Linked DNA regions of Homo sapiens: region 2 is linked to region 1. The links are contacts of gene promoters, found by promoter capture Hi-C in human tissues and cell types (Jung and others, 2019). All regions are on one chromosome and are shown on one strand. The core of a region is centred on a gene start or on the middle of the fragment in contact, and the rest is flanking DNA. Distances in the headings are between cores, read along the strand shown. Region 1 holds the start of TTLL7 (tubulin tyrosine ligase like 7). Region 2 has its middle 33 kb from the start of SSX2IP.

Region 1 (4,239 bases), core at 1,174-3,673:
TGGTTTGCAGACTGTAGTCATTGGACAGAGGAGAGAGAGCAGTTCTAAAGCCAAGTTGGTATTATATTCATACTCTCAGTGATGTCATCTAAGTAAAATGTGCTGTCTCTGTTTTAAAATGTTGCTGCTGACCATCCATCACCAGGACATGCACTTTCCTTTTTTTTTTTTTAACAGCAGTGGTATTGTATTTTTGCTTATTCATTCATGCCAGTTCTGCTGTCCCCCTTAGGATTAAACAGATTGGATTACAAGATGCCTTGCCAAGGTTCAGGATATAGGTTATAGCCATGTAAAGAACAAAATGAAATGACTTTTAGGAATCAAACTCAAGACTCTTCACAAGACCCCACTTCTCATACTCTTGTTTGAACAACAAATATAAATTTGTGCCTCCATTTTATGTCCTTATTTAGGCAGTGGACTTTATCAATACCCCCGTTAACTTGAAAAAGAATTCTCCAATGCAAATGGTTCAATACTTTAGAAATGACATACTAAGATGACTCTGTTCCTGCCTACCATCAATACTATGTGAGTATTTAGAGATAATGAGCATCTGTACTATAGCAACCTGCCTCTTGAGACATAAACAAGAGATGCATTTCTTAAGAAAAAATCTGTAAGTCGCTAATGAAAGCAAGTCAAAGGACCCATCAACGGGCGAAGAAAGACCTAGCATCCATTATTTTTACAGAAGGAGCATAGAAGGTCAATATAATTGTTGACTCTTAACGGCAGGGTAACAACAAACTAATTCAGTTTCCCACTATATAAGAACTACATTTTACTACAACACTCATATTTCTAAACTGACTAAGAGTCAAGGCTTGTCCAAATTCCATGGCTTACTGAGTGGTCTTGAACCTTCTCTGAATTTTGTTCCTTAGTCTGTAAAATGGAGTTATCACCTGTTATGCAATATCACAGAGTTGTAATGAATCAAGTAACATTATCTTAGTATGGGTTCACCTGTCACCCTATTGTGGGGTGCAGTTCAGTCGCACACCTCATGAACTAAGTAACTATTATTACTGTAAATGTCTCCCTAACATTTAAGACAGAAAAAGATTTCCAGAGTTCTTCTTACGTTTTTAATCGACTTCTCCAACACTTGAGCATCCACCAAATATCACTGCCAAAAATGTGCTGAACATCTCCTGTTATGACCTCACTCTCCTATGTAGTGTTGTTCACATATTTTTTGCCATAAGCTTTCTAAGAAAATAGATTATTTTTCACATGATTCAAAGCATCTTTCTTTCATATTGAAGGAGCAATAATTCCTTATGCAGAAAGTTTACAGGTTGTTGTTGCTGTTGTTTGAGATTACTCCTCAATTAATTAATTCTATGTTTAATATCTAATAGAGCATATATATGTACACTTGGACACACTCCATTAATACAGTGGAAAATCCATGGACTATAGAGTCAGGAAAACCTATATTCGAATTCCTGTTCTGTGACCTTGAGAATGTAATTTAACTTCCCTGCTCCTCAGTTTCCACATTTGGTTCTGGATTATGATGATTTAATAAAATACGATATATAAAAGTAAGTGCCTAGGCTATGAAGGTATTATTTCCTACCTCTCCTAAATCTTTTCTTTCTATGCCAGGATCAATCAAACCCACCCAGAATACAAGGCAACTTTCATAGGGTATCTTTTACATCAGTCGAGGGAACGCTGCGATGTGATATAAGTGGATGATGGCATGAGTCAGGCATCCAACAGAGCAAGATGTGGAGAAAGTGAGAGGTACCTACAAGGGCCCTAGACTTCACTCGCATGTGCGAAAAGGGCATTTTGATACCCTTTCAAGAATGCCCCGCATACTCGCGGAGGCTTATACCACGATGTGGGAAAACGACGGAATTACAGAATAAACCAGCAGGGAGCCTCCTCGTTCACCCAACCCGACCCCGCCCGCCCGAGTCTCCCATCTGGAGCCTAAAAACTGAGCTGAGATCACAGCAACTGACCCCGTCCCCTCCGCCCTCTCCCTCCCCCATTCTGCCCAAACCTCTCAGGGCACGAATGGTGCTGAATCATTTGCACGAACGCAGCAGCTCCCCGTTCCGCGGCTCCCAGCGGGGACGGTGTCCCCAGAGCAGTGACAGTCCGGGGATGGGGGCCCGGAAAGAGGGCCAGGGCGGAGCCTTTGGGGACGTGGGGACATGGAAGGGGGTCGGGGGAGGATGGCGGCAGCAGGTACTCACCCGGGTGAGGAAAGCCCAGCCCGGGTCCTCGCGTCCCCGCTGCAAGCGGTCCCCCAGGTGCTCCCGCGCCTCGCAGCTTCCCCGTGGGCGGCCGCCCCGACTCGGCAGCCTGCACTGGTGGTCCGGTGCTCTCCTCCGCCCGCCCACCGCCCGTGGCAGCCACGGCTCGGGACTCCGGTGCTCGACGCGGAGTGCCTGGAACAGCTGTCGCTGCCCAAGCGGGTGGCGGCTACCGACGGGCCAGACCATTCGCCTGCTGCGGCCGGGGGTGCACGACGTGCCGAGAGGCGCGGGCGCCGGGGGCGGCGACGGTTGGGAGGAACAAAGGACTCGGGGAATCCTCTGCCCCCTCGGAGTCAGGAGGTCCTGGGGACAGGAGGGATCAACGGAGGGGCCGCTGCCTCTTCTGGGGGTTTACTGAAGACACTGCTCGAGCTTTCCCGGGCCACACACACCCCCCCCCCGTTTGCCTTGGTCCCGCTCGGGGCTCCTTTAGAACGCGGCAAACAGAGGACTTAGCAACGCGAGCGCCTGGGCGGCGCCCCTCCTCAGAGATGCGAGAGGCGCTGGCCTGAGCGCCTCCGGCCACCTCCTTCTACCTCCGGGCCCTAGGCGCCCGATCCACCTGCCTATCTGACCACAGACATCTTCCCACAAAACAGTGGAGCTTTTTGAATCTTTGAAGAGAGTCTTCAGATCTTTTATCTAAGCATCTTTGTGAAGCAAAGAATAAACGGGTATCTGAGGCCAGCTCGAAAGTTAGGAAATAAAATCAGGTGGGGCCCCATCCCGTAGATGCTGAGGGACAGCTCTGACCTAGAGTTCCTGCTAAGCAAATGTTGAACCACGGCAGTTGTAAAAAAATGTAGATTTAGGAAGCCATTTCGAGATAAAGATTTACAGAAGATTGTTGCAGAAATTAAAGAATATTCGAGGTTCATTGTTCACCATTTTAGAGTTGCGTGTCTTGAAAACGGGAAGGCAATCATGTCTTCTCATAAAATGAATTGTATAGAACTGGAAGAAGTCCTAACACATGAATTCCTTAGACTTTTGTGGTCCCTGCTTCTGTCACGCTGGGTTCACACAGGTTCATTTCAGAGCATGGTGAAGATCAGGACAAGTGTACAGTTTTCCCTGTAGAAAAAAAGAAAAGATAGAACAGAATTGGCAACTACCTATAAAATGTGATTAAAGGTAGGAAAAAAAAAGGCCCTCCAAGTGCATCCCAAAAAATATAAAATTTCACAATTTAAAGTTTTGTCCTTCGTTGAGTAAATCAACATAAATTCAGCACTTTCTATAGACCACTGTGCTGAGAATAGTCTCATTTTCATTTCTTCATTTATTCTTCTAAAAACTCCTGTGAGATTGGTAACCTGCAATAGACCTCCATACAGCCTTGCCAGCATTGGGAACTGATCTGGTCAGTGAGGGCATCTTCTCATAAAGGACACTGGTGAGAAACTGGGCTCAGGGTTTGTCGTGCTGGGTTAGTCTCACGATCATAAGCGGCAGAGCAGACATTGCCACCTGGAGTTTTTGACTTGTTCCTTTCCCCTAGAATGCCTCTGAGAACGATATACATTAAACCGTGTCACATCTGTGATTGCAACTTGAATGTGAGTCTGTTTATCCTTCCTTTGTGAGAAGGGGTTTTAGAATGGAGAGGGGGCAGTTAGGTGTCCAGGGTAGGCATCACCCTGAGGCAAGAAGAGTGATCAGAAAGAAGAAGCTGGACTTCACCCAGAACTAGCCGAACATCAGCGTCACAATACACTGTCAAGGTCACATGAGGTTGAAGAGGAATTCTCCACTGCCTTCTTGTTAATCATCTTTACATCATTATTTTCACTGTATTACACTTTACACTATGCATGCACTATTACTACATTACATGTTATCATTCTTCCATTCCTAGGAAGGGGCAAGAATTTTTCAATAAACCTATTATCATGGGTCCTCATATACCTTATCAAAAAAAATGTTAAGTAACAGAGGTATTAGCAACACTTAA
Region 2 (4,404 bases), core at 1,905-4,404, 720 kb after region 1:
CTTTGTTAAATTTCTATTAATTAGTAATAATTATGGGGCCTACTGCCAGCTGAATCAGATCATTGGCTAAAAAGAAAGGTTCCCTTATAGAAGTTGCTGGGTTGTTTTATTATTTATAGAATAGTTAAGGGGTCAAAGCTATTTCCATATGAAATCTAAATAAAGTGGGTGTTCAGATGAGATCCCATCTGGAGATTAGTGACTTTGAAAACGCAATATATAAAAGAGAAATAAGAAGAAATATCCTTTCTCAAATACTTAACCAGCAGTTACAGTATAAGGATGAACACTTCTATTTAAATCACATTTTGTGATAAAAGCCATGTCTGTGCAAATCTACATGGGAAGTGGTAAAAATGAAGACAGAAACAGTTTCTTCAACTAAGAGCCATAAAATACCTCACTATGGTATTTGTAAGTTATCAGGAACCATGACTCAGTCTGCACCAATAGAAACCAGACTTTCTGATAGAAGAGAGGTTTGCTGACTCAGAGTCTTCTTGTCTCCCTCAAATTAGGCCCTCTGCCTCAAAGTCCCAGGGCTTCATCTACAGATCAAACTGGTAATTCTTAGGTAACACTGAACAAAGGCTTAGTAATAAAGGGTGAGCTAATTATAGCCTCAAATCCAATGCACGTTATTTGACAAAGGATATTGAAGGATAGTAGGTAGCGCAGAGGGTCAGTAGTGGAGGCTATCCTTGTAGAGTCAGAAGCAAGGCTCAAACCACATGATAGGGGCTACTCTGGAGAAGACCTCATAGCTCATACTAATAGGGATAGGACTAGATGCCAAGAACTCTGCCGTGACTGCTCTTTAAACATGGGATGTTTCCAACCCCACCTTCACCAATAGATCCTTTCTTCACTGTACCTACATTTCATTTTACTCACTTCTAAATAAGAGGTATGCACAGTGTGAACCCCAAATATCTGAGGTAGGTCTCAGTCAATTTTAGGAAGTTTATTTACCAAGGTTCAGAATGCGCCCATGACACAGCCTCAGGAGATCCTGACAACATGTGCCCAAGGTCGGGGCACAGCTTGGTTTTACACATTTTAGGGAGACATGAGACATCAATCAATATATGTAAGATGTACATTGGTTCAGACCAGAAAGGTGGGAAAATCGAAGTGGGGAGGGGGCTTCCAGGTCATAGGTAGATAAGAGACAAATGGTTGCATTCTTTTGAGTTTCTGATTAGCCTCTTCAAAGGAAGCAATCAGATATGTGTTTATCTCAGTGAGCAGAAGGGATGACTTTTGAGTTCTGTCTGTCTTTTGTCAGCAAGGAAGTTCCTTGTGAACTAATTGTGAGGGAGGTCTGTAGCTTTTTTATCTTAGTAGCTATCTTTATTAGGGTTAGAATGGGAGGCAGGTTTGCCCTAAGCAGTTCCAGCTTGACTCTTCCCTTTGGCTTAGTGATTTTGGGGTCCCAAGATTTATTTTCCTTTCATAGCAGATAGGGCTGAATCAGGGTCACATGCCTGTACCCTAGCTGCAAGGAAGAATAATTTGAGGAAGAGGAAATCAGTATGGAAATTCTACAAACAGTGAGTGAAAGGATGCTAGGTGATCACAAACCTGAATAATGCTGACTTTAGTCTACCCCTTGACTGTTCAAAGGTAATATTCAGCTCTCCTTCTATACCAGCATTTCCCAACTCTTCATTTTAAGAGCCAAGAACATGCTCCTCTTCTTTATGTCATACCCTTTTCCTAGCAAGAGTCAGGATTTGATCACAATTACTTCCCCCAATTCATACTCCATTATCCCCTCTTCTCTTGCCACCATTAAATAACCACATGGCTCTCTGTTTTTGTGGGGTTGATAATTCCTCATTGAAACAGTGGTTATTTATTGTTTTGATTGTTACTATATTAAGCTTTGGGAGGGATCGGGTGTGACGGTTAATTTTGTCAGCTTGGATAAGATATGGTGGCTAATTTTCTGGTCAAATACCAATCTAGATGTTGTTACGAAAGTATTTTTTTTAGATGTGGTTAACATTTAAACCAGTAGACTTTGAGTAAAGCAGCTTGCTCCATAATGTGGTGAGCCTCATCTAATCACTTGAAGGCTTTGAAGAGAAATGACAGAAGTCCCTCGAGGAAAAAGAAATTCTGCTTCCAGATTGCCTTCAGACTCAAGATTGCAACATCAACTCTTCCCTGGGTCTTCATCCTGCTGGCCTACAGGATGAAATCTGGCCAACATTCATGATTGTGTGAGGCAATTCCTTAAAATAAATGTCTCTCTCTTTTCAGCTCATTGGTTCTGTTTCTCTGGAGAACGCTAATACAAGGGAGAAGGGAGGTTGAAGGAGATATTAATAAGTTCCTGGCAGGGAAGTTTCAAGACATAATTTAAAAATATATATTTTTAAGTGTCCTTTTGTATTTTTTCACTTTAGCCATTCTATTGTTCAGCTTTTCTTTAAAAGTTTGGCTAAAAAGTTTGATATATCTCTTTCCCTATGCATACCCTTTGTTGGAAGGAAGGGCTGGGTTGTAATTCAAGATTGTAGCCACTGGCTTGAATCTCTCCCAAAGTTTCTTGCGCTCTAGGCTTCCTCGGGGTTCAGTGACCTACTAGAAAATTATTCTCTCTCTCAGGAAATAAATCTAACAGTCTCCACTTTTCTTCTTATGTCGAGGGTGACTCACTAGAATGTAAGAGACGACCAGATACATTATCATTCATTTATTCCTTTTGTTCCTTCATTTCTTACTGTGCAAGAAATGTAAAGAAGAAATGTAAGAAGTGTAAGGCTTGTAAACCCAGAGGTTAATACGGCTCAGTATCCTAACAGCCGCGTGTTCAAGAAGCACAGCCAGGGGGAATTCTACTGTTTTTGGAATTTCTCTAAGAACCTTAAATGGACCCTAACATACATTAACACTTCTTCAAGCCACTTCCCACTACTCCCACCCCACCATGGCTCCAGTGGCTCTCTCCTCAAACTGACCCTCAAAAGGCTTCTATCCTGTAGCACAACATTATCTCTATGCTTTTAAGCTCTTACTCCAGCACTCATCATTTATTACTATGCAAATATATGACAAGAGGTGGGGCAACTCCCAGAGAGATCTAGGCTTGGCCAAGGAATCAGCATTGAGTTCCCAGAGGATTCTGATAGGGAGGTGGGGACAGTCCATGAAGAGTGGAGGGAATTGCACTTAAGACAAGTACCAGCGAAGCACCAATAAATCAAGCTCCCTCCCCTTCTCACCTACTAGCTAATCTCTCGATTTCATCCCTCTCTTACTATTTTCCACCAAAAAAGTCCAAAGAACAAGTTCATCAACAACAGAAATCCCCTCAGTGGGTGGAGAGAGTGGAGAAAGAAAAGGCAGAAATCAAATTCACTATAGCAGGAAGAAAAGAAGTTAAGCATGCAAAAACCTGGGGTATGGGCTGGTAGATGGTGCGAAAATTCAAATAGTAAGCATTTTTGTCTGGTCTCAATTCATTCATTTGTTCATTCTTTTTGCTTTCTTGAAAAAAAAAAATTAAGATGCTGTCGTGTTCCAAGGCAGTGGCCTAAGTATTGAGAATTCAGGAATAAATTAAGAGCACAGTCCAAGCCCTCATTAACCTCCCTGTGGTTTCCCTGCCACCCACCCTGGCTGTACCTACTGCGCTTGGGGTGTTTAGCTCAGAATCGCAGAATTGCGCCCCCTGGCTGTTCCCTTTTGCAACAGCGGACGTTGGGAGCAGATGACGCTCCCAGCAGAGCTCTGTTAATGGTAGCAGGTTCCCAAATTCCCGGTCCCAGGGCCTGTTCCTGTCAGCAGTTCTCTTACGGCACCTGTTGACTCTGCACTTTGAGAAATCAATTCCTCTTTAGCGTCAGGGCTGGGCGTTTCGGCATCACCTCCTAGGACACTGCTCACAGTATGTGCTGCCAAAAGGCAACAGCAATGCACATCAGATCCTTTCCAAACGTCCTTGCTTAAAGACACTGGAACCGGTTGCTCAACTTCGGTACTGTGCAGACGCTTTTACATCCCCTACAACCCCCAGGAGCGTGCCTGCAAAATCCAAGCGAGAGATACTTTAAGTAACCCCTAAATCGATTAAAGTATGCATCAAGTGGCTATTATGGGAAAAGAGAAGTTTTATTTATATACAGTACATAAAATAATTTCCTTTTACATTACTATTAAAATGAAGATAGAAAAAAATGTGGAGAGTTCAAGGGTCCCCCAGAATGACCCTATATTGACCCTATATTCGAGGAGGTGAACCTCACTCCACTCTACAGCATTTCACTCCTAGCAATCTCCTGCTGGGCACTCCTGAAGCAAAAGGTGGAGAACTCATGCAATGATGGCTTAGAGCAAGCTTGTCCAACTCATTGCCCGTGAGCCACAGGAGGCCCAGGATGGCTTTGAATGTGG

What was found. The method cuts DNA at HindIII sites, captures the fragments that hold promoters and counts their contacts. A contact is called where the count stands out against the background at its distance.
Region 2: a contact is called between a fragment that was not itself captured here and the fragment with the promoter of TTLL7 in region 1, in 3 of the 25 tissues and cell types used here (mesenchymal stem cells, small bowel and stomach).

The regions. Positions count from the first base shown.
Region 1 is chr1:83,996,709-84,000,947 of GRCh38, forward strand. It overlaps TTLL7 (tubulin tyrosine ligase like 7), which reads right to left and starts at 2,424. Exons shown (of 21, transcript NM_024686.6): 1 at 2,223-2,424. LOC124904205 (a long non-coding RNA gene) reads left to right here and starts at 2,580. Exons shown (of 2, transcript XR_007066195.1): 1 at 2,580-2,998. RefSeq lists silencers at 2,084-2,213, 2,224-2,323. The HindIII fragment of the contact is 6,127 bases long and covers 1-4,239 here.
Region 2 is chr1:84,720,853-84,725,256 of GRCh38, forward strand. No RefSeq gene overlaps it. Among named protein-coding and RNA genes, the nearest start is that of SSX2IP, 33 kb to the left of the region's middle. The HindIII fragment of the contact is 5,423 bases long and covers 444-4,404 here.